Regions from separate parts of the Homo sapiens genome. Here regions 1, 3, 4, 5 and 6 are each linked to region 2. Evidence: promoter capture Hi-C in 16 types of primary human blood cells and fetal thymus (Javierre and others, 2016). All regions are on one chromosome and are shown on one strand. The core of a region is centred on a gene start or on the middle of the fragment in contact, and the rest is flanking DNA. Distances in the headings are between cores, read along the strand shown. Region 1 holds the start of WDR45 (WD repeat domain 45). Region 2 holds the start of TIMM17B (translocase of inner mitochondrial membrane 17B). Region 3 has its middle 3.0 kb from the start of GLOD5. Region 4 overlaps SUV39H1 (SUV39H1 histone lysine methyltransferase). Region 5 overlaps LOC124905186 (a long non-coding RNA gene). Region 6 overlaps TFE3 (transcription factor binding to IGHM enhancer 3).

Evidence for each region. The method cuts DNA at HindIII sites, captures the fragments that hold promoters and counts their contacts. A CHiCAGO score of 5 or more calls a contact.
Region 1: the fragment with the promoter of WDR45 here is called in contact with the fragment with the promoter of TIMM17B in region 2 in 11 of 17 cell types (neutrophils, fetal thymus, non-activated CD4 T cells and 8 more); the score reaches 14.5 in neutrophils.
Region 3: a fragment that was not itself captured here is called in contact with the fragment with the promoter of TIMM17B in region 2 in 1 of 17 cell types (megakaryocytes); the score reaches 5.2 in megakaryocytes.
Region 4: a contact is called between a fragment that was not itself captured here and the fragment with the promoter of TIMM17B in region 2, in 4 of 17 cell types (naive B cells, naive CD4 T cells, total CD8 T cells and 1 more). The highest score is 6.6, in naive B cells.
Region 5: a fragment that was not itself captured here is called in contact with the fragment with the promoter of TIMM17B in region 2 in 11 of 17 cell types (naive CD4 T cells, activated CD4 T cells, non-activated CD4 T cells and 8 more); the score reaches 14.7 in naive CD4 T cells.
Region 6: a fragment that was not itself captured here is called in contact with the fragment with the promoter of TIMM17B in region 2 in 1 of 17 cell types (non-activated CD4 T cells); the score reaches 5.8 in non-activated CD4 T cells.

The regions. Positions count from the first base shown.
Region 1 is chrX:49,078,567-49,082,656 of GRCh38, reverse strand. WDR45 (WD repeat domain 45) reads left to right here and starts at 2,770. Exons shown (of 11, transcript NM_001029896.2): 1 at 2,770-2,906. It also overlaps the pseudogene RNU4-52P. RefSeq lists silencers at 2,001-2,070, 2,313-2,607 and enhancers at 2,313-2,607, 2,319-2,819. The HindIII fragment of the contact is 3,362 bases long and covers 1,813-4,090 here.
Region 2 is chrX:48,896,213-48,900,039 of GRCh38, reverse strand. TIMM17B (translocase of inner mitochondrial membrane 17B) reads left to right here and starts at 2,272. Exons shown (of 6, transcript NM_001395498.1): 1 at 2,272-2,316; 2 at 3,182-3,281. The coding sequence starts at 2,291. PQBP1 (polyglutamine binding protein 1) reads right to left here and starts at 2,110. Exons shown (of 7, transcript NM_001032382.2): 1 at 1,958-2,110; 2 at 1,464-1,548. The coding sequence starts at 1,530. RefSeq lists enhancers at 1,447-1,666, 1,717-2,086, 2,377-2,576, 2,607-2,756. The HindIII fragment of the contact is 9,862 bases long and covers 1-3,827 here.
Region 3 is chrX:48,756,681-48,760,843 of GRCh38, reverse strand. No RefSeq gene overlaps it. Among named protein-coding and RNA genes, the nearest start is that of GLOD5, 3.0 kb to the left of the region's middle. The HindIII fragment of the contact is 5,282 bases long and covers 1-4,163 here.
Region 4 is chrX:48,700,006-48,704,027 of GRCh38, reverse strand. It overlaps SUV39H1 (SUV39H1 histone lysine methyltransferase), which reads right to left. Exons shown (of 6, transcript NM_003173.4): 3 at 3,275-3,937. Among named protein-coding and RNA genes, the nearest start is that of SUV39H1, 5.3 kb to the right of the region's middle. The HindIII fragment of the contact is 3,918 bases long and covers 1-3,766 here.
Region 5 is chrX:48,654,070-48,658,049 of GRCh38, reverse strand. All of the region lies in intron 1 of LOC124905186 (a long non-coding RNA gene), which reads right to left. Among named protein-coding and RNA genes, the nearest start is that of WAS, 28 kb to the left of the region's middle. The HindIII fragment of the contact is 2,419 bases long and covers 1,182-3,600 here.
Region 6 is chrX:49,025,878-49,030,130 of GRCh38, reverse strand. It overlaps TFE3 (transcription factor binding to IGHM enhancer 3), which reads left to right. Exons shown (of 10, transcript NM_006521.6): 10 at 1-1,405. Among named protein-coding and RNA genes, the nearest start is that of TFE3, 15 kb to the left of the region's middle. The HindIII fragment of the contact is 721 bases long and covers 1,094-1,814 here.

The DNA.
Region 1 (4,090 bases), core at 1,521-4,020, 180 kb before region 2:
AGGAGAGGGCAGAGAAGTGATTGCTGGTTTGGCAAGATTATTATTCATCAGTGGTCTGGTTAAGAGCAGTCCCAAAGACACAGGAGTGACAAACACCAAATTGAATTGAGTTGAATATGGTCTGGGACATGAGGAAGTGGAGTCTGAAGAAAGCCAGATGATTGGCCTTGTTGAGGAGCACAGTAATGGAATCATGCCAAGGGGAGTATATAGGGCCAAAATTCACAAGTAAATATATACATGGGAATTGACGACACAGTATCTGAAACAACCTAGGCAGCCATCAGTTGGGGAAGGGCTGAACAATGCTACATAATATCATGAACCAGTTAAAAAGGATGAGTTAAAAAGATGTTCTTATATATTAATATATGAAAAAACAGAAGCATCAAAACAATACTTCAAAAAAAGTAAAGGGGGGATTTCATCAATGTGAAACCCTGATTGTATTAAAAGTATGAGATTTCTCTGTATTTTTTCTTTAATATTCAGTCTTCATAGACTGTCAAAAATTGCCAATGCCGACTATATTGCAAGTCTTCGGGGCGGGGTATTGGGAAGTTTCCAATTAGCAATATCCACACCTTGGCTAAACCTCATTGGCTATGATACTGCCACTGCAAAAAGCATATTTCTTTTTTTTCAAGAATATTCTTTTTTTTTTTTTTTTTTTGGAGACAGGGTTTCCCTCTGTTGCCCAGGCTGGAGTGCAGTGGCGCGATCTTGGCTCACTGCAACCTCTGCCTTCTGGGTTCCAATGATTCTCCTGCCTCAGCCTCCCAAGTAGGGGACTTACAGGTGCCCGCCACCACGCCCGGCTAATTTTTTGTATTTTAGTAGAGAGGAGGTTTCACCGTGTTACCCAGGGTGGTCTCAAACCCCTGAGCTCAGGCAATCCACCTGCCTCGGCCTCCCAAATTGCTGGGATTACAGGCATGCACCACCATGCCCAGCCCTTTTTTTTTGAGACGGGAATTTCGCTCGTCTCCCAGGCTGGAGTGCAATGGCAGGATCTGGGCTTGCTGCAACCTCCGCCTCCTAGGTTTAAGTGGTTCTCCTGCCTCAGCCTCCCCAGTAGCTAGGATTACAGGCGCGTGTCACCACGCCCGGCTTTTTTTTTTTTTTTCGAGACAGAGTCTCACTCTATTACCCAGGCTGGAGTGCAGTGGTGCGATCTCTGCTCACTGCAACCTCCTCCTCCTGGCTTCAAGTGATTCTCCTGCCTCAGCCTCCCGAGTAGCTGGGACTACAGGCACGCACCACCATGCCTGGCTAACTTTTTGTATTTTTAGTAGAGAGGGGGTTTCACCATGCTGGCCAGGCTGATCTCGAACTCCTGACCTCATGATCTGCCTGCTTCGGCCTCCCAAAGTGCTGGGATTACAGGCGTGAGCCACCGCGCCCAGCCTATTTATTATTTCTTAATGTAAAGTTTAATTAAAAATCCTTCCAGCCGGGCGCAGTGGCTCACGCCTGTAATCCCAACACTTTGGGGGGCCGAGGCAGGCGGATCACCTGAGGTCAGGAGTTCAAGACCAGACTGATCAACAGGGAGAAACCCGGTCTCTACTAAAAATACAAAATTAGCTGGGCGTGGTGGCACATGCCTGTAATCCCAGCTACTTGGGAGGCTGGGGAGGCTGAGGCAGAAGAATCCCTTGAACCCGGGAGGCGGAGGTTGTGGTGAGCCAAGATCGCGCTAATTGCACTCCAGCCTGGGCAAAAAGAGCCAAACTCTGTTAATCAAAAAAAAAAAAAAAAAAAAAAATTCCTTCCAGTATGCATATAATTTGGGGCCTTTTTTTAAAAGCTTTATCATAGGTAGGACCTCTTTTTTTTTTTTTTTTTAACCCAAAGCATTCATACCTTTTACTATCAAAAAGCTATTTTGTATTTTGTAAAAATAAAAGCAGAGGCCGGGCGTGGTAGCTTAAGCCTGTAATCCCAGCACTTTGGGAGGCCGAGGTGGGTGGATAACCTGAGGTCAAGAGTTCGAGACCAGCCTGACCAACATGGTGAAACCCCGTCTCTACTAAAAATACAAAAATTAGATGGGCGTGGTGGCGCACGCCTGCAGTCCCAGCTACTCCGGAGGCTGAGGCAGGATAACCGTTTGAACCCGGGAGGCGGAGGTTGCAGTGAGCCGAGATCGCGCCACTGCACTCCAGCCTGGGAGACAGAGCGAGACTCTGTCTCAGAAAACAAAACTAAACAAAACACAAAAGACAAAACTCAGAGCTGGCGGGGTTGGGGGGACAGGGTGGGGAGAAAGAAAGCGAAATCTGTTCCTTGGCTTCCCGGAGCCAAGGAGGTTTCTCCACTTTCAAGGTCTCCAGGTCCGCCCCCGCCTGTAACCCCCAGCGCCGCCCCTCTGGAAGCCTGGGAGGACTGTGTGTTGCGAACCGGGGCGGCTACTCTCGGCCGCCGCGGAGGTCCGCGTCTTGTTAGCAGGGAAGGTTTACTCCCCCATTGTGGGTGACCAAGGGGCTGAGGGCTTGGCCGGTTTCGCTTTGCTGGGGGCAAGGCACGCTCTCTCTCCCCACCCTTCCGGGTTCCCTCAGACAGTCTCGGCCTTGAGGAACCCCCTTCGCCTCCGGTCCCCCAGCCAACCTTCCTCCGCTCCCCGCGCCCTCCCCGGAGAACCCCACTGTCACTCGCGATGCTCCGAAGACCCGGGAACTAGGCGAGGAAGGCGGTGGCCGCCTTTTTCCAGCTGGGGTGAGTCATTTCCTGCGACAGGCTCCCTCCCCCGGAAGTAGGGCCTGATGTAAACACCCGAGCCGGGCTCCAAGGCCCGGGAGGTCAGAAAACCGGGCCGCGGGCGGCACCGACAGCTGGGGCCCGGGTCAGGGACACGCGGAGGTCAGGCCGGTGAAGGCGGCAGGAAGCTGGAGCACGATCCCAGGGTTGGTTGGGTCTGGGGGAGGCTGGAAGTCTTTCGAGTAGGGGTCTAAGGCAGAGGTCTTGAGTGGGTGCTGGCGTTGGAAGGAGCATGCGGCTGGTCTTGGGAGAGGGGCGAGGCATCCCGGACAGAGTCTTGGAATGGAGGTGCAAAAAAGGGGTGTTGAAAGTTGGAGCTGTCCAGAGAATAACTCTAAGGCAGAGCTGTCCAAAGAAAGAGCATGAGGCATTCCAGTGGAGGGTGTAACTGAAAGAAAGGAAGGAGATTTGGACTCTTGGAGGATGGGGGAGGGAGTATGTCTGGCCAGAGTTATTGGGGAGTTGAGGATTTGAAGGGAAGTTGGGGGCTCTATGGCAGTAATCTTAGTAGGGGACTGCGCAGGCATCTTAGGGGTTGAGGTTCTCCTAGGTAGGAGTTTTGGGTGGTTTGTTTTGGGCAAGGGTCTTAGAAGGCAAGGGTGCCCTGGGGCGGGGTCTTGGATAGGGGTCTAGAGGGGGAATCTTAGGAGGATGGGGGGGGTTCCTGGGGTTGGGTCCAGGCCAGGTTATGTTGTAGTCAAGGACAGCAGAACACAAGGAAGGAGATGTCCCAGGGGTGGAAAATTTAGAGTGCTAGGGGGAATCCTAGGGTAGAGTCCCCAGGGCATAAGCCAATCTAAGGGAATGTCTAGGCTGGCCCTGAAGGGTAGTTACCAAGGCATGAGAAGGGGTCATCCCAAGGTAGGCATCCTGAAGGAGTTTGGGGAAGCCGGTTGAGGGGGAAAGGTGTGAGAGGACTCTGGGGTGGTCAAATAGGTTGGGGTACAGTTAGAAGGGTATGAGCAGAGGAGTTCCTGGGGATGGCAGACCAAGCATAGCAGTCCCAGGGCCAAGTCAGGGAGGTACAAGAAGTGCATCTCCTAGCCCACTTTTGTCTATTTATTGAGAGAGTCCGGTGCTAGGTCAGGTTTGAAGATGAGAAATGGGTTGGGAGTGGTTCCAGGCCATGTCTGGCATTGGGATCAAGATTGGCTGGCGGTGGGGAGGAGATATCACGGGGGCACCCCCTATCACATTACTTCCTGACAAGTCAGTGAGGGCCAGCATGTAAAGAGGAGGTGTGGGGTCCACGTCAGTGTGGGCCTGGAGCTTGCCAAACCTGAAAGAAGGAGGGTTCCTGGCCATGTTGTTTGGGATCTTGGGAGCTTAG
Region 2 (3,827 bases), core at 1,023-3,522:
TGACCTCGTGATCCGTCCACCTCCGCCTCCCAAAGCGCTGAGATTACAGGCATGAGGCACCCTGCCCGGCCTGGGATCATTGACAATTTTATTAACCACAAGGTCTATACCTTGCACACAGTAGGCTTGTAATAGATGTCAGTTATCAATAAGGAGAAGATATATTTTCCAGTGCCTGGCACACTATAGCCCCAAATAGATGCCAGTTTTTAGTATTACTGATAATAAGGTGTGATTTGCAGCCAGAGCACAGTAGGCCTAAATGATAGATCCTCACTGCAACTACGCTTGGCACACAGGAGACAGCAGTAGAGGTTAGCAGTACTTCCTATTAGATACTATGTCATCACCCCCATAGAGTAATCCATGGGATTTAACTTGGCATACAGTAGGCCCCAAATAGGCATTAGGTGGTCAGTATTATTTTGTTGTTTTTTTTGGATTTTTTTCAGACAGGGTCTCCATGTGTCGGCCAGGCTGGAGTGCAGTGGCACAATCTCGGCTCACTGCACCCTTGACATCCTAGGCTCAAGAGATCCTCTCACCTCAGCCTCCCAAGTAGCTGGGACTACAGGCATGCACCACAACACACGATTAATTTTTGTATTTTTTGTAAAGACGGGGTTTTGCCATGTTGCTCAGGCTAATCTCTTAATCCCTAAACTCAAGCAATCTACCCGCCTCAGCCTCCTAAAGTGCTGGGAATGCCAGCTTGAGCCGCCACGCCCAGCCAGTCAGTATTGTTAAGAATGAAATATCTGCCGGGCACAGTGGCTTATGCCTGTAATCCCAACCCTTTGGAAAGCCAAGGGTGGGGGGTGGATCACCTGAGGTCAGGAGTTAGAGGCCAGCCTAGCCAACATGGTGAAACCCGTCTCTACTAAAAATGCAAAAATCAGCCGGGTGTGGTATCACGTGCCTGTAATCCCAGCTACTTGGGAGGCTGAGACAGGAAAATCGCTTGAGCCCGGGAGGCGGAGGTTGCAGTGAGACGAGATCACGCCACAGCACTCCAGCCTGGGCGACAGACCGAGACTCTGTCTCAAAAAAAAAAAAAAAAAAATTGCCAGGTGTGGTGGGGCGGGGCGTGCCTGTAGTCCCAACTACTCGGGAAGTTAAGGCAGGAGAATCGCTTGAACCTGGAAGGCGGAGGTTTTAGTGAGCCGAGATCGCGCCACTGCACTCCAGCCTGGGTGCACAATAAGACTCTGCCTCAAAAAAAAAAAAAAAAAAAAAAAAAAAAAAAAAAAAAAAGAATGAAATATCTATTCCCCCAACCCCCTCCACTTGACACGCGGTAGGGATGGATGTCAGGAATCCACATTGTTAACAACGAAAAATGCCTGCCACCCCATTGCTTGGTGCACAGTTGGCCCATGCTAGGTATCAAGCGTCAGTATCAACAACAAAAGTGCCTGTCGAGGCTGGCACGTGTTAGGACCATCTGCTTTTAGCTGTCTCACCAGGCTCCAGATGTTTGAGGATGCCTCTCTTGGCCAAGCGGGTCTGCAGCGCAACGGGCAGCGGCATAGCTGATAGCAGACAGACCTAGGGACAGACGAACAAACTGACAAGCAGCTCAGATAAAGATTCCTATCTGGATCCCGTAACCAAGCGCCTCCCGTAAACATGTACTCATCTGACTCCGATCTACTCAAATGAACCAGTAGCTGGGTGGACAGAACATACGCACTAAAAGATGTAAGAGGTAGGTGGCAATATCATCGCAACTCCCACCAACCCTACTGTCCCCGAAACCAGGTGCTCCAGGGCCCTGTTCCTCTCCCAGGCCCAGGCTCCGCCCACAGCCTAAGAAGCCCGGCCCCTCCGCACTTCAGAAATGGGCTCATCCAGCGTCCCCATGACTGCCGGGTGGGAGAAACCAAAGCGCTGGGATGGGGGAGCAGAGGGCAGCACTTCCTCCAGCTCCAAAAGAGTGCACCCACCCCAACGTTACCAATACACTCGTGCAGGTAGTGGAAGGCTGTCACACCGCCCGTCTCTCTCGTGTCGCCGCTACGATACCTGGGCCCACACGACTCTCTTCCCAAAACACCGAATGAGACCTTCTCTCAACGAGGCCTTCACTCCCCGAGCCTGAAAGTAACTGGACTACGCTCAGGAGGCAATGAACAAATGGCAGAAACTCGATTGGCCAATGAGAGTGCGTCCTTGGCGTGACATGCGGTATAGCGACCCAATCGCTGCCCGGTAATAGGCGGAAAGCTCCGACGCCGGTGTGCGTCTACGCTGGGGGCGTGGCCTGACTGCGCGGCCAGACGCCAGCGCCATGGAGGAGTACGCTCGGGAGCCCTGGTACGGCAATGGGCACAGGCATCCGGAATATTGCTGCGACGCCAAGGCCAGCCGTGGGGGTCGGGCGGGGGAGGCATCGGCCGCACAGAGCCATGTACCAGACTCGGGGGACTCTTAACGTATCTCCCGCTACCCCCACTCGGTTCCTGTCATTCGGGCTCCGTTATGAGGGGCCACAACCAGAGAAGGTGCGGCGAAGGCCGAACCACGCCATGTTTCTCCTGACTTCGTAATCTCCTAGCCCTGTTAACGAAAAAAGACACGCTGGACGATCCATCCCGGCTAGGGGTGGTACGGTGTTGACCGGAAATCCCCAGAGTTGCCGCCAGTGGTTTTTCCCAGGTCGCCTTTGTCAGTGGGGGGCGGGGCACGGATGAACCTGTTGAGGGCCGGCGGGGACGGTGGATGCTTCCCGCGGTCGCTCTTGGTTTTTCCCAGTTGTGCCGGATTGAAAAGGGGCGGGGCATGGTTGGACGGGCTCACCGTCGGAGAAGGGGTGCGACGCGGTCCTGCTTTGCTGACAGTCTGTCTTGGCTAGTTAACACGCCTATGTCGCTTATTGAAACGTCAACTCTGCGTGTGCCAATTCATTTAATCTTTGATCACAGTAAAACCGTTGGCTGATTCCTTGGTTGGTAGACAGGGCGAAGACTAATATTTCTCCCCCTTTGCCCCATTTCTCGCTTTAATGGGGGGGTGTGTGGAAAAAGCGTGACAGAACTAGCTCATTATTATCTGAAGTGTTTGTTCCTACTTAGGAACTTCCCATTCTGGTGACTTGGTTTCTCCCAGTTAGAAAAGAGTTCGTGTGACAGGACCTGGGGGAGGGCTCACATTAACCCCGTCCTTCCCTTCCTGCTTGCAGCCCATGGCGAATTGTGGATGATTGCGGTGGAGCCTTCACTATGGGTGTCATCGGTGGCGGAGTCTTCCAGGCCATCAAGGGTTTCCGCAATGCCCCTGTTGTGAGTCCAGGCCTTCCCTGGGTTGGTGTGGGGTTAGCTATCTTGCCCACAAGGGAGGCTGCTCTGAAAACTGCTTGGAGCTGCCAGTCACGTGCACTTATTCATTCTGGTGCCCACTCACCTACTATGTGCCGAGCCTGGCTCCTGTATCTGGGATTTTGTAGGGATTGCAAACATGGCCTCTGTCTTCCACCCTCCACCCCACCCAACTGGAGCTCCTCTGTGGAAATGCTGTGTCGTTCAAAGAGTCATCACCAAATTTTAAATGTATGTGCAAAGCCAGACAGTTTTTTTTTTTTTTGAGACAGTCTTGCTCTGTTGCCCAGGCTAGAGTGCAGTGGCACGCTCTTGGCTCACTGCAACCTCTGCCTCCTGGGTTCAGGCAATTCTCCTGTCTCAGCCTCCCAAGTAGCTGGGACTACAGGCATGTGCCACCAGACCTGACGAATTTTTGTAATTTTAGTAGAAATGGGGTTTCACTATGTTGGCCAGGCTGGCCTTGAACTCTGGACCTCAGGTGATCCACCTACCTCGGCCTCCCAAAGT
Region 3 (4,163 bases), core at 618-3,117, 140 kb after region 2:
CGGAGGTTGCAGTGAGCCGAGATCGCGCCATTGCACTCCAGCCTGGGTGACAGAGTGAGACTCTGTTTAAAAAAAAAAAAGTTCTGAGCCCCAGGGTGTGATGTTCCTGAATTATTTTGGGGGATGAGTTTTGGGGGATGAGATTTGCAGTCTTCCTCCTCCTCCCCACTCACCCTTCACTCACCCTCACCTTCCGCTGCTGAGAGTCAGAGAACATTCATCAGCCCAGTTGCTGTTCACTTTACCCTGAGCAGAACTCCCCCATCTCCCTTACAGGTTACTTGTCTGGCCCCTGGAGCATGTGAGTTTGAGATTTTTGTTTCTAGTTACCCCCAACACAAACACTTTGTGTTGTGGATATTGTTTTGTTTTTGTTTTTTTTTGAGACAGTGTCTCACTTTGTCACCCATGCTGGAGCCCACTGGCGCCATGATGGCTCAGTGCAGCCTCAAACTCCTGGGCTCAAGGGATCCTCCTGCCTCAGCCTCCTGGGTAGCTGGGACTACAGGTGTGTGTCACCACGCCTGGCTAATTTTTGTATTTTTAGTAGGGATGAGGTCTTGCTATGTTGCCTACAATTGGCCTGCTTTGGCCTCCTGAAGTGTTGGGATTACAGGCGTGAGCCACCGTGCCCGGCCAGATATTGTTTTTAAGCATATGATTTTCCTTTAAAAAGAGTTACACAAATAATATGTGAATACAGGTTTGTATAAAAGATTTGAAAAACAGGCTGAGGGTGGTGGCTCACACCTGTAATTCCAGCACTTTGGGAGGCTAAGGCGGGTGGATCAATTGAGATCAGGAGTTCAAGACCAGCCTGGCCAATATGGTGAAACCCCCATCTCTACTAAAAATACAAAAATTAGCCGGGCATGGTGGCACGCAGCTGTAATCCCAGCTACTCGGGAGGCTGAGGCACAAGAATCACTTGAATTGGTGGCAGAGGTTGCAGTGGGCTGAGATCGTGCCACTGTACTCCAGCCTGGATGACAGAAGGAGACTCTTTCTCTCGAAAAAAAAAAAAAAAAAAAAGATTTGAACAACACATCAGTACATGGACTCTAGCAATCATCTCTATCCCCATTCCCCCAGAATGACCACTGGGGTCAGATTCTGGTGTTTCCTTCCAGATACAGTTCCCTGTGTTTCCATAGTGTGTGTGTGCGCACACTACACACATGCACTAGGTCACTGTAACTGACTCCCCCTTGCTTTTCCCTGCCTATAGCACATCCTGTAGAAGATAACCCCCACCCTTGCAGGTACACACAAGTCCCATCCATTCTGTGTCACGTCCAGTGGGCACTCTGTGCTGTAACATGAACCCTCATTATTCGTTTCACTCTGCAATAGTCCTTGGGTATCAGTGAACATTTACAAGATTTTCCTGGTTGTTTGTTCCTACCAGCCTTGTTCCCACAGCTCTGTGCACATGTCTGAGTACTAGAATTAGAAGTGGAATTGCTGGGTGTATTAGAGTTCTCCAGAGAAACAGAACCAGTAGGAGAAACAGAACCAATATGTAATATATTACAAGGATTGGCTCCTGTGATTTTGGAAGCTGAGAAGTTCCACAATATGCCATCAGCAAGCTGGAGACCCAGGAGAGCCAGTGGTGTTGTTCTGAGAACCAAAGGGCTGATGGTGTTGGCTGGGCATGGTGTCTCACGCCTGTAATCCCAGCGTTTTGGGAGGCCAAGGTGGTTGGATCACTTGAGGTCAGGAATTCAAGACCAGCCTGGCTAACATGGCAAAACCCCATCCCTACTAAAAATACAAAAATTATCTGGGCGTGGTGGCGCACACCTGTAATCTCAGCTACTCAGGAGGCTGAGGCAGGAGAATCGCTTGAACCTGGGAGGTGGAGGTTGCAGTGAGCCGAGATTGTGCCACTGCACTTCAGCCTGGGTGACAGAGCAAGACTCTGTCTCTAAAAAACAAAACAAAACAAAACAAAAAAAGGGCTGATGGTGTAAGTACCAGCCAAGGGCAAAGGACTGGTGTTCTACCTCAAGCAGTCACGCAGAGAGCAAATTCCACCTTCCTCCGTCTTTTTTGTTCTATTCCAACCTTCAGTGGATTGGGTGATGCCCATTTACAATGGGCAGAGCCATCTGCCTTACTCAGTCCAACAATTCATATGCTAACCTCATCTGGAAACACCCTCACAGATCCACCCAGAAATAATATTCAACAGGGCACCCTGGGTCCCTATCAAGTTGACACAAAATTTACCATCACAAGTCCACCCCTTATTAACTGTCCTTTTCCACTGTCCTTCAGAGGTGTCTCAGAAAGGGGCCATAGTGCTTCAGCTGTCCACTTTCAGAGTGTGCCTGCATAACATGCAGAATCATCTGTAAACCAGGCCCAAGTCTTCTCTTCCTCTGTCAACTAATTGTAGGGAACTCCCCATGAGGCCACAGTTGCAGGCTGGGAGAAAGGAGGCAAGGTAGAAGGAGTGGGGACCATGGGCATTTAGGCCTCTTCCTCATGTAACTTACTTGTGTCTTCAGGGCCTGCTTAGGCCCCATCACATATTTCCCATTTCCATTCGACGATGGAGCACTGCTGGGCACACCGACTCTTGGTTAGTCAGGTAACACCCAGTTCATGATGGGCAGGAATGATGTAACTTGGTGGCCCATGGTCAAGTATTTAGTTTCTACTAAGACCCAGTAGCAGACCAAGAGCTGTTTCTCTCTCTCTCTCTTTTTTTTTTTTTTTTTTGAGACAGGGTCTCACTTTGTCACCCAGGCTGCACTGCAGTGGCACAATTACAGCTCACTACAGCCTCGACCTCCTGGGCTCAAGCGATCTTCCCACCTCAGCTTCCTGAGTAGGTGGGACTACAGGCATGCACCACCCCACCCAGCTATTAATAATTTTTGTATTTTTTTGTAGAGATGGATTTTTGCCATGTTGCCCAGGGTGGTCTCGAACTCCTGTGCTCAAGAGAGAGATGTGTTGGCCTCAACCTCCCAAAGTGCTGGGATTAAAGGAGTGATCCACCACACCCAGCCAAGAGCTGTTTCTCAAAAGGAGGGTAGTTATCTGCAGAGAATAGCAGGGCTTTGCTCCAAAATCCTAAAGGAGGCTCACCAAATTTCATTTGGGGGGCTGAGACGTGTGGATTGCCTGAGCCCAAGAGTTCGAGACCAGCCTCGGGAACATTGGGAAACCCTATCTCTACAAAAAATACAAAAGTTAGCCAGATGTGGTGGTGCACACCTGCAGTCAGTCCCAGCTACTAGGGAGGCTGAAGTGGGAGGATCACCTGAGCCTGAAAGGTCAAGGCTGCAGTGAGCTGTGTTGTGCCACTGCACTCCAGCCTGGGTGACAGAGCAAGACCCTGTCTCAAAAAATAAAATAAAACAAAATCCTAGAGGGCTAGGCTATGACTAACTTATAGCGGCCTGCCAAGAGCTCCAAACAGTATCCCTATCTGCCACTGTCACTTCAAGCACCACTGGATCTCCTGGGTCCTATGGCCCAAGTGGCAAAGTAGCTTGCACAGCAGCCTGGACATGTTGCAGAGCCTTCTCCTGTTCTGGGCCCCACACAAAACTTGCAGCTTTTCAGGTCATTTGGTAAACGGGCATGTGTAACATACCCAAATGAGGAATGTGTTGCTTCCAAAATCCAAATAGGTGTGCCAGGCATTGTGCCTCTTTTTTGATTGTAGGAGGGGCCAGATGCAACTACTTATCCTTCATCTTAGAAGGAATATATTGGCTGGGTGCAGTGGCTCACGCCTGTAATCCCAGCACTTTGGGAGGCTGAGGCGGACGGATCATGAGGTCAGGAGTTTGAGACCAACCTGACCAACGTGGTGAAACCCCATCTCTACTAAAAATACAAAAATTAGCTGGGCATGGTGGCGTGTGCCTGTAATCCCAGCTACTCAGGAGGCTGAGGCAGGAGAATCGCTTGAACAGGGAGGTGGAGTTTGCAGTGAGCCGAGATTGCATCATTGCACTCCAGCCTGGGTGACAGAGCGAGACTCCATCTCAAAAAAAAAAAAAAAAAAAAAAAGAATATGTTGACAGACCTCACACCACTGGACTCCTAGAAATTTCACTGAGGTAGAAGATCCCTGAATTTTTGTTGAATTTATTTCCTACCCTCTGACACAGAAATTTCTCACCAATAAGTCTAGAGTA
Region 4 (4,022 bases), core at 558-3,057, 200 kb after region 2:
GATCCTGAATGTTCTCTCTGTGCCTGTTTCCTCAGCTAAAAAAAAAAAAAAAAAGCTACAGCCTGGCAGGGTACCAGTTTTAGATATTATTTGGGCCTTTATTTTTTTATCCATTGTACTACTTTTGTGATTTTAATCAAGTTATTCTACCTCTCTGGGCCTCAGTTTTCTCATCTGCAGAATGGGAATGACAGTGACAAAATCCCAACCTGACAGGGGCTGTTGTAAAGATCCATACAAGATCATGGACGTGAAAGGTGTTCCTGTTTCTGATAGGAGAGTGAGCAATGTTAGGAGTGGTTATGAGGACCAGTTATAAATGTAAGGCACACCCTTAATTTTATGTGCCCTTTACCAAGAAAGGAAAAACTGCTGTTAATTATAAATGATACACCATGATTTAATTAAGACATCTTCATTTCCGAGATGTTAAAATAGGAAGAAAATGCATGTTTTAGAATGGATAAAATAGGCTGGCATTGTCTCTTGGGTGAGGATGGGAATGTTCTGCAGGAACGTGAAAGTTCTGACCCAATGTGGGAGGCTGCAAAGGAGGGAAGGGCAGCTCCCGTGGAGGGAGCTCTTGGTACAGACTGTCAGTACATGTCCCAGCTGAAGAAGGACAGTAGATAGCATGGTGTGCAGATAGGCCCTTGATTCCGTAACACCCTGGCAGCATCTGGGACGGCACTACAGAATCAAGTAAATTAGAACTGCTGCAACGAAATGTATGACTATTACCCCAAGTAGGATAAATAAAAACTACAAATAGGACCCTATCCGGTCAGGCTGGGTCCTGTAGCCAGATGGGTTACAAAAAAACTTGGTCTTCCAGACATTTTGGATTTGCTGAAGTTTGAACTATGCTGATAACATTTGTATCAAACTTACTGTGTACTGAACACTGTTCAAGTGCTTTTTCCAAGTGCTTGATACATAGTAACTCATTTAATTTTTGTAACAAGCCTGTGAGGTGAGTGCTATTATTGTTCCCATTTTACATAGTAAATGCAGGCACAGAGGTTAGTGATTGCTGATGAGTAGTGGAGCTGGGATTCAGCCTCGGGCAGTCAGGATCCAGAGTCCACCCTCCTAACCATTTGCTATACTGTCTCTTCAGAGGGGAATGCGGGAAGATGAGTTTGGCTCTTTCCGGAGGCCTGTGGCACCATCAGGAGGACCCATGGGTCTGAGGGTGCTGGAGGGCGGTCAGGAAATAGTGCAGCAAGAATGTGTGGAGAGCAGGAAGGGTGAGGACAGGGCTGAGAGGATCCCTGGGAGGATTAAAGACACTGACACTAAGGAAGAGCAGCCAGAAAAGTCTCAGGCCCAGGAGGGTCTGAGGCTGCCCTTGGGGTGTAGTCTTCCTCCTCGACTGTCAGGACCCTGTGTGGTAGACAGTGTTTCCTCCAGATGCCAGTACAGTGAGGCTGAGATACTTCCTGCTCTGTGCAGCCCCTAGGACGGTGGACTGTCTGGGTCCTATGGGGTCTGGACATCTCCTCCAGAGAGTTTGGGTTCCTTCAACCTCTGGACACTTCCTCCAGAGCGTCAGGACATTGAGGGCATGGACACTTCCCCCGATACTGTCAGGGTGCCCTTGGGTGTAGACTAGATCTCCAGGCTGTCCGGATCCCTCTGGGGTGAGGACACTTCTTTTTCCTGTCATGACAACATGGGTGTGAACACTTCCTAAGTCAGACCACCAGGTCCTCTAGAGTGTGGAGAGCACAAGCTCTTCCTCCAGGTCACTGGGGTCACTGTGGGACATGGACTTCCTGCAGATTATCAGGACTCCTTCCCCCGCCCACTGTCAGGAGCCCTCAGGGTGTGGACACCTCCCCACCTCCTCCTTCCAGATGGCCAGGTCCTGTGGCATGTAGACATCTCCTCCAGCAGGCCAGCAGGGTTATCTGGACAGGGTGTGGCTGTCTCCTTGCCCAGACTGTCAGGGTCCTCTGTGGTGTAGATTGTTCTACCCAAGATTGTCTCTGTCCCTGTCAGATGTGACCCTCTGTACAGTTTCTCAGAGTAGGAGCCTCTCCTTGTCATCAGTATCAGTGCTACAGTGTGGACACCCTCATGTGAGTGTTCCTCAGGCCAGTTTCTGTCACTTTCCAACTATATCACACCCCTAAGGGACCTATGGCTATATATAGAGGTATCTGGGGTTGTCACTATGACAGGGCACACTCATGGATTTAAATGGTCAAGGTCCAGGGATGCTAAATGTCCCCCAATGCATGAGACAGTTCTACATAACGAAAAATCATCTCATCCCAAATGCTAACTGCATCCCATCTTAGAATGCGACATTTTTCTGTTGTAGATACTTGCTAGTTATCTAGTTGCTAGTTATGGCTGTGCTTTAGCCTTGTGCAGCTGGGCACATGGCTAAAGCACATCCTGTTGCCTCTCTTGCATGGAGGTAAGGCCAGTGACTCAGTTCCAGCCAGTGGAGCATGGGCAGAAGTGATGGGTGCTGCATCTAGGCCTGGCCCACTAGGATGGGCCCCTTCTATCCCCCACTTGGCCCGCCTGCCAGGCAATGCTGAGGATCTGGTAGTGACTCCAAGGCTTCAAGGCACAGCAAAGGCACAGGAGGGAAAGAGCCTAGGTGTCCCAGTTGCTGTGTGAAAGGATACCCACTCAAACCCCCACAATGGACTGTTCCATGAGCAAGCAAACTTGTAATGTGCAAAGTCACTAAGATGAGGGGGTTGTTTTTACAATGGCTGGCTTGCCTAATACACTCGGCCTTCCCCAGTGTCCTGAAAGTCTAAAGGAGTTAGCCAACCTTTGTCCAAGGCATGTCTCATCCTACTCCAGACTGCGTTCCTTCTGTGCAGACTGGTAAAACAATGCTCCTCAGGCAGATACTGCTTGGTGATAAGATGGGCCCTTGTGAAATGAGAAGAGGAAGTGCCTTTCCAGCTGATGCAGCCCTATGCCAGACCACATGGCCTGTTACAAGGAATGCTAAGGCTGCCTGGATCTCAGCTCCCACTTTTCTTCTTTGCTAAGTACCCTGATAAAGTCAACCCAGTGCAGAAGTATTTTGGTGTTCCTGTAACCACCAGCATGGCCATGCTGGTGTGTACCAGCTTGGAATACTAGCCCCTGCCCAATGTCCCTGTGACACTCAGATCAGTCTCCCAGGCCTTTCCCATAGGGAAAGCAGGGAGTTTCAGACACACAGTGAGGAGAGCCGGGTGCACACTGTGAACACAGGGTGGGAAGAGCTGCACACACACACCGGGTCCCATCTCCCTACCTCTCCCACGTACTCCATGACGAAGCTGTTCTTGCGAATCTTCTCCAGGGTGCGGACGCCCCAGCCACGCCCATCATCCGTGCGGAAGATGCAGAGGTCATATCGGATACCCTTCTGTACCACACGATTTGGGCAGTCATAGCCGCAGCGGCAGCGGGAGTTGCACTCGTAGATGGGCAGCCCGGCTCGAAGCCGCACCTGGCCCTGGTCATTGTAGGCAAACTTGTGCAGTGACGCCCCCGGGCAGCAGCCTCCAGTGGGTGCCCACAGACAGTCCTGGCACTCGCAGCCCACAGCCACCTGGTTGAGGGTGATGCCCTCACCAACACGGTACTCATTGATGTACACGAAGGCCCGCGGAGGGCCGTCCAGGTCCACCTCATTCTCTACAGTGATGCGTCCCAGATGGCTGCGCTTGGCATTGAGCTCCTGCTCCCAGCGACGGAGCGCCCGCCTCTGCTTGGCCTTCTGCACCAGGTAGTTGGCCAAGCTTGGGTCCAGGTGCCGGGGGGTCTTTGACCGGTGGTGCCGCCGGAGCAGCTCCCTTTCTAAGTCCTTGTGGAACTGCTTGAGGATACGCACACACTTGAGATTCTGCCGTGGCTCCCAGGTGCTCTCTGAGTCTGGATATCCACGCCATTTCACCAGGTAATATTCCTGTTCCTGTTGGGGGTGGGTAGGGGGACGGGGGTACCGTAAGTAGTGAGATCTTTGGGCCAGCCTTCATGGGGCTTCCATCCCAAAGCTG
Region 5 (3,980 bases), core at 1,142-3,641, 240 kb after region 2:
TAACGAATACCTAAAAATGTGGAAGTGGCCTTGTAATTGTAATGACTAGAGGCTGGAAGAGTGCCATGGTTTGAATGTTCCCTCCAAAACTCATGTTGACCTTTAATTGCCATTGTAACAGTATTGAGAGGTGGGGTCTTTAAGAAGACATTAGGTCATGGGGCTGTCACCTTCATGAATGGACTAATGCTGTTATTGTGGGAGTGGCTTTGTTATAAAAGTGAGCTGTCTCTCGCATGCACCCTCTTGCCATTCTGTCTACCCATGATGGGATGATGCAGCATGAAGGCCTCATCTGATGCTAGCACCATGCTCTTAGACTTCCCAGCCTCCAGAACTGTGAGCTTGTTAAGCTTCTTTTTAAAATTATTTTTATTTTTTATTTTTTTGAGACAGAATCTCACTCTGTCACCCAGGCTGGAGTGCAGTGGCACGATCTCTGCTCACTGCAACCTCTGCCTCCCAGGTTCAAGCAATACTCCTGCCTCAGCCTCCCGACTAGCTGGGATTACACGCATTCATCACCAGGCCCAGCTAATTTTTGTATTTTTAGTAGAGATGGTGTTTCACCATGTTAGTCAGGCTGGTCTCAAACTCCTGACCTCAAGTGATCCACCCACCTTGGCCTCCCAAAGTGCTGGGATTATAGGTGTGAGCCACTGCACCTGGCTGAGCTTCTTTTCTTTATAAATTACCTGGTCTGTGGTATTCTGTTATAGCAACAGAAAACAGACTAAGACATAAATTTGGGTGCATGCGCTAGAAAAATCCTATATTGCCACCAGGTGCGGTGGCTCACACCTGTAATCCCAGCACTTTGGGAGGCCGAGGTGGATGGATTATGAGGTCAGGAGTTTGAGACCAACTTGACCACCACGGTGAAACCCCATCTCCACTAAAAATACAAAAAAAAAAAAAAAAATTAGCCGGGCGTGGTGGCGCACACCTGTAATCTCAGCTACTCAGGAGGCTGAGGCAGGAGAATTGCTTGAACCAGGGAGGTGGAGGTTGCAGTGAGCCAAGATTGCGCCACTGCACTCCAGCCTGGGCAACAGAGCAAGACTCCATCTAAAAAAAAGAAAAAGGAAAAAAAGAAAAATCCTATATTGCCATTGAATGGACCTTTAAAGGTGATTCTGATGAGCAGTCAGAAAGAAATGAGGAGAGCTGTAGAGAAAGCTTCTGCTTTCTTAAAGAATACATAAGTAATCATGAACAGATTGGTGGTAGAAATATGGGTGGTTAAAGGCTGTTCTGATGTGGTCTCAGGTAGAAATGAGGAACGTGTTATTGGACAGTGGAGAAAAGGTGATCCTTGTTATAAAGTAGCAAAGAACCTGGCTGAATTGTGTTTACGTTTTAGTGTTTTGTAGAGGGTAGGACTTGTGAACAGTGAAATGGAGATTTAGCTGAGGAGATCTCTAAGCAAAGTGTTGAAAGGAGAGGCTTGGTTCCTCCTGACTGCTTATAGTCAAATTTGAGAAGAGAGATATGAATTGAAAACAGAATTGTTATGCAAAAAGGAACCAGAACTTAAACTTACCCAAGCTATGAGGGTGACATTGCTCCCTCAGTGGGTCTGGAAAATTCTCAGCCTGTCCCTGTCCATATTACAAAACATGACAAAGCATGTTTGGAAGAGAACACTAAGGATCTGCTGGACTATTTGACAAGGAGATTACTGTGAATGTGAACTGTGGACTTCATTAACCATCTCAACAAAACAGCAATAGCGATGGGATTGTACTGGAAATGGCACTGCTGACTGGGACTAAAGGAAACAGAGAAAATGGGACAAAATGGCTGGGCACAGTGGCTCATGCCTGTAATCCCAACACTTTGGGATGCTGAGGCGGGTGGATCACCTGAGATCAGGAGTTCAAGACCAGCCTCACCAACATGGTGAAACCCTGTCTCTACTGAAAATACAAAAATTAGCCGGGTGCGGTGGTGCACGCCTGTAATCCCAGCTACTTGGGAGGCTGAGGCAGGAGAATCACTTGAACCCAGGAGGCGGAGGTTGCAGTGAGCTGAGATTGCACCACTGCACTCCAGCCTGGGTGCTGGGCAACAGAGGGAGACTCTGTCTCAAAAAAAAAAAAGAAAAAGAAAAAAAGAAAATGGGACAAAATGAAGGAAGATGATTAAACTTCTTAGATCCTATAGGACCAAACCATAGAACTATTCGGCTGTGAACACACACTGTTCTTCAAGATAAGGGAAGAAGAACCCTGAAGGTGATTCAGAGACCGTCCAGGTCACCAGTCCCATCAGAGGCCCAGAGTACATGGGCTTAGGGCATAGGACTACCTGCACCTCCATTTCTTTTTTTTTTTTTTTTTTGAGACAGAGTCTCGCTCTGTCATCCAGGCTGGAGTGCAGTGGCACAATCTTGGCTCACTGCAAACTCCGCCTCCCAGGTTCATGCCATTCTCCCACCTCAGCCTCCCAAGTAGCTGGGACTACAGGCGCCCACCACCACGCCCAGCTAATTTTTTGTATTTTTAGTAGAGACGGGGTTTCACCCTGTTAGCCAGGATGGTCTCGATCTCCTGACCTTGTGACTGGCCTGTCCTGGCCTCCCAAAGTGCTGGGATTACAGGTGTGAGCCACCACTCCCAGCCTCCACCTCCATTTCAAAGGGTGAGACCAATGCCCAGTAGAGCGGTGGGGATGGAGGCTCCCAGCAGAGCCCTGAGGCTACAACTCCTGCCCTGACAACCACAGCATGAGCAGTGAGTGCTGCCAAACTGTTGTTACCGGGCCGGGGGGTGGGGGTCCTTGCTTCCAGAGCTCCCAAGATGGTGGTGGGCTGCTTCCAAGATGGTGGCAAGCCTCGGGTTCTCTGACCTGGGGTTCTTGGCCTCACGGATTCCAAGGAATGGAGTCTTGGGCCATGCGTGAGTGTTATAGCTCTATTAAAAGCCGTGGGTCACGGAAGAGAACCGTGGAACCCAGTGACTAGTGTTCAGCTCGATTAGGACAAACACAGGCACTTAGCCATGCAGGAACAATGGCAAGCCTTTAGCCCGATCGGGAGCAGCAGTGGACGGCTTGCTGGATCAGGAGCACAGCGGACACCCTGCCGGATCTGGAGGGATGGAAGTCAATGGCGGGTCTGCGACGGCGGCAAACAGCAGTGGTGGACTGCAAGTGAAAGCTCAGCTCGAGCCGTAACAAACACGGACCAGAAGAGAGTGCAGCTGCAAGATTTAATAGAGTGAAAACAGAGCTCCCATACAAAGGGAGGAGACCCAAAGAGGGTAGCCGTTGCGGGCTCGAATGCCTGGGTTTATATCCCTATCATTGTCCCTCCCGCTGTGCTCTCAGGTGATAGATGATTAGCTATTTCTTTACCTCCTGTTTTTGCCTAATTAGCATTTTAGTGAGCTCTCTTTACTCCCTGATTGGTCGGGTGTGAGCTAAGTTGCAAGCCCCGTGTTTAAAGGTGGATTGCGGTCACCTTCCCACCTAGGCTTAGGGATTCTTAGTCAGCCTAGGAAATCCAGCTAGTCCTGTCTCTCACTGTGAGGGTGACATTGCCCCCTCAGTGGGTCTGGCATGAGGGACTGACACCCCAGTAGGTCTGGAGGCAAAGCTTCAAGCCAAAGAGGATTACCTGAGTCTCAAGATCTCACAGAACTTCCCTTGCTAGGTTTTGGACTTGCTTGGGACTTGTCACCCCGTCCTCCTTCCCTGTTTCTCCCTTTTGGAATGGGAATGTTTATAGACCCTCTTTGTGTCCCATCATTGTATTTTGGAAGCAAATACTTTGGTTTCTTTTAAGCAGCTGAAGAGGAATTTTGCTTCAGGGTGAGTTTCACCCATACCTGATTTAGATGATCTTTAGATGAGACTTTTGGCTTTAGACTTTAGAGTTCATACTGGAATGAGTTAAGATTTGGGGGGATGTTTGGATGGAATTGAATGTAGTTTGCATGTGAGAAGCACATGAATTGTCGGGGGCAGGCAGGTGTTGG
Region 6 (4,253 bases), core at 205-2,704, 130 kb before region 2:
TCCCACCCAGGAAAGGAGGACCAGTCAGGATGAGGCCCCGCCTTTTCCCCCACCCTCCCATGAGACTGCCCTGCCCAGGTATCCTGGGGGAAGAGGAGATGTGATCAGGCCCCACCCCTGTAATCAGGCAAGGAGGAGGAGTCAGATGAGGCCCTGCACCTTCCCCAAAGGAACCGCCCAGTGCAGGTATTTCAGAAGGAGAAGGCTGGAGAAGGACATGAGATCAGGGCCTGCCCCCTGGGGATCACAGCCTCACCCCTGCCCCTGTGGGACTCATCCTTGCCCAGGTGAGGGAAGGAGACAGGATGAGGTCTCGACCCTGTCCCCTAGGGACTGTCCTAGCCAGGTCTCCTGGGAAAGGGAGATGTCAGGATGTTGCTCCATCCTTTGTCTTGGAACCACCAGTCTAGTCCGTCCTGGCACAGAAGAGGAGTCAAGTAATGGAGGTCCCAGCCCTGGGGGTTTAAGCTCTGCCCCTTCCCCATGAACCCTGCCCTGCTCTGCCCAGGCAAGGAACAGAAGTGAGGATGAGACCCAGCCCCTTCCCCTGGGAACTCTCCTGGCCTTCTAGGAATGGAGGAGCCAGGCCCCACCCCTTCCCTATAGGAACAGCCCAGCACAGGTATTTCAGGTGTGAAAGAATCAGTAGGACCAGGCCACCGCTAGTGCTTGTGGAGATCACAGCCCCACCCTTGTCCCTCAGCAACATCCCATCTAAGCATTCCACACTGCAGGGAGGAGTGGTACTTAAGCTCCCCTGCCTTAACCTGGGACCAACCTGACCTAACCTAGGAGGGCTCTGAGCCAACCTTGCTCTTGGGGAAGGGGACAGATTATGAAATTTCATGGATGAATTTTCCAGACCTATATCTGGAGTGAGAGGCCCCCACCCTTGGGCAGAGTCCTGCCTTCTTCCTTGAGGGGCAGTTTGGGAAGGTGATGGGTATTAGTGGGGGACTGAGTTCAGGTTACCAGAACCAGTACCTCAGTATTCTTTTTCAACATGTAGGGCAAGAGGATGAAGGAAGGGGCTATCCTGGGACCTCCCCAGCCCAGGAAAAACTGGAAGCCTTCCCCCAGCAAGGCAGAAGCTTGGAGGAGGGTTGTAAAAGCATATTGTACCCCCTCATTTGTTTATCTGATTTTTTTATTGCTCCGCATACTGAGAATCTAGGCCACCCCAACCTCTGTTCCCCACCCAGTTCTTCATTTGGAGGAATCACCCCATTTCAGAGTTATCAAGAGACACTCCCCCCTCCATTCCCACCCCTCATACCTACACCCAAGGTTGTCAGCTTTGGATTGCTGGGGCCAGGCCCCATGGAGGGTATACTGAGGGGTCTATAGGTTTGTGATTAAAATAATAAAAGCTAGGCGTGTTTGATGCGCTTTTAACTTTGGCAAAGAGTCTCCTGTCCTTGTTTTACACTGTGCAGTGAACATAGCCCATGCAGGCCAAGAGGGATAAAAGTCCTTGGGAGAAACAGATTCCAGAAGGATGGATAAAAGAATTTAGAAAGGAAGAGGGCATGGAGGAAGACAATATGCAAACAAAAGACAGTATTTTTAAAGACCAATCACCAGGCACAATTTTAACTGCTGCAAGTGTTTCATCTAATTTATTTCTCTAAAGGGATGTTAGTCAGAACATGCTGCTTCTTACTTCCATTTGGTCTTTGAAGAAGCTGAGGAATAGAATTGAACTGTTCTGAAGATATGCAAGCCTGTAAATGGGTGAGGCGGTAAAACAGTAAAGTCAGGTGAGTGAGGGCTCGATTGAAAAATGCCACTGAGGGCAGAGGGGGAAAGAAGCTTTTCTTGCAAATCCACTTTTGAAACTGATAAAGAAGTCTATGAGGATATTTCCTGGCAGACAACAGAGGTATTTAAGATGGTGGAAAGGACAAAGACAAATATCTGAAAGGCAGAGGAACAAGCAACCAACTGAATTTTGGAACAGATGTTGAGATTTTGGGAGAATTTAAATGAACACAAGTATCTTCTTGAAGGCTGGGAAAAAGTATTTTCCCGCAATTTCTCAACCAGACACTGACTCCTAGAACAAGCATCAGGCCTGGTCCCTCCATTTCCCCCACCAGACTGTGACCTCTGAGGGCTGGAACTGGGCTTGGTCACCGTGACTACCCTAGACTGTGACCACCATACTTGTTATCTCTTTTTTTTTTTTTTGAGACAATCTCGCCCTGTCACCCAGGCTGGAGTGCAGTGGCATGATCTCGGCTCACTGCAACCTCTGCCTCCCAGGTTCAGGTAATTATCTTGTCTCAACCTCTCTAGTTGCGATTACAGGCATCTGCCACCACACCCAGCTAATTTTTTGTGTTTTTAGTAGAGACGGGGTTTCACCATGATGGCCAGGCTGGTTTCGAACTCCTGACCTCAAGTGATCTGCCTGCCTCGGCCTCCCAAAGTGCTGGGATTAGAGGTGTAAGCCACCACACCCGACCCTTGCTAGCTCTTTCTAACCTATCACACTGCTACCCCTCCAAGCCTGGTTGCTGAATCTCTGTAACCAGACTGATGGCTCCCTAATAACCTTTATTTTTTCTCCTCAACTTTGCTGTACTCTCTCTCTTTTTTTTTTTTTTTTTTTTTTGAAACGGAGTCTCACTCTATTGCCCAGACTGGAGTGCAGTGGCATGATCTCTGCTAACTGCAACCTCTGCCTCCCAGGTTCAAGCGATTCACGTGCCTCAGCCTCCCAAGTACCTGGGATTACAGACGCGCAACCACGCCCAGCTAATTTTTGTATTTTTAGTAGAGACAGGGTCTCACCATGTTGCCCAGGCTAGTCTCAAACTCCTGGCCTCAAGTGATATACCTGCCGTGGCCTCCCAAAGTGGGATTACAGGCATAAACCACCATACCTGGCCCTATACTCTCTTATTTTATTTTATTTTATTTTATTTTATTTATTTATTTATTTATTTTGAAACAGGGTTTCCCTCTGTCACCCAGGCTGGGGTGCAATGGCGCGATCTCAGCTCACTGCAACCTCCGCCTCCCGGGTTCAAGCGATTCTCCTGCCTCAGCCTCCTGAGTACCTGGGATTACAGGCATGTGCCACCACACCTGGCAAATTTTAGGTACTTTTCTTTTTTTTTATATGGAGTCTCGCTCTTTTGCCCAAGCTGGAGTGCAGTGGCACGGTCTCGGCTCACTGCAACCTCCACCTCCCAGGCTCAAGCAATTCTCCTGCCTCAGCCTCCCGAGTAGCTGGGATTACAGGCACCTGTCACCGCGCCTGGCTAATTTTTGTATTTTTATTAGAGACAGGATTTCACCATGTTGGTCAGGCTGGTCTCAAACTCCTGACCTCGTGATCGCCCACTTCGGCCTCCCAGAGTGCTGGAATTACAGGGGTGAGCTACTGTGCCCGGCCTTTTTTTTTTTTTTTTAAAGACAGAGTCTCGCTCTGTCGTCCAGGCTGGAGTGCAATGGTGCGATCTCGGCTCACTGCAACCTCTGCCTCCCAGGTTCAAGTGATTCTCCTGCCTCAGCCTTGCGAGTAGCTGGGATTACAGACATGTGCCACTACTGCTCAGCTAATTTTTGTATTTTTAGTAGAGATGGGGTTTCACCATGTTGGCCAGGCTGGTCTTGAACTCCTGACTTCAAATGATCCGCCTGCCTTGGCCTCCCAAATTGCTGGGATTACAGACATGAGCCACGGCCCCTGGCCCAATCTTTTGTACTTTTAGCAGAGACCAAGGTTTCACCATGTTGGTCAGGCTGGTCTCGCATTCGTGACCTCAGATGATTCGCCCGCCTCGGCCTCCCAAATTGTTGGGATTACAGGCATGAGCCACCGTGCCTGGCCTCTTCTTTATTTTTTAAACGTAACATGTAATGCCCAGAGGTTTTTTTTTGGGGGGGGAAGGGGGTACAGGGTCTCACTGTCACCCAGACTGGAGTGCAGTGGCATGATCTTGGCTCACCACAACTTCCAACTCCCAGGTTCAAGCGATTCTCCTGCCTCAGCCTCCCGAGTAGCTGGGATTACAGACACATGCCACTACTGCCCGGCTAATTTTTGTATTTTTAGTAGAGATGGGTTTTCACCATGTTGGCCAGGCTGGTTTTGAACTCCTGATCTCAAATGATCCAACTGCCTCGGCCTCCCAAAGTGCTGGGATTACAGGTGTGAGCCACTGCACCTGGCCTCCCAGAGGTGTGTTTTTTTGTTTTTGTTTTTGTTTTTGTTTGAGGCGAAGTCTCACTCTGTCGCCCAG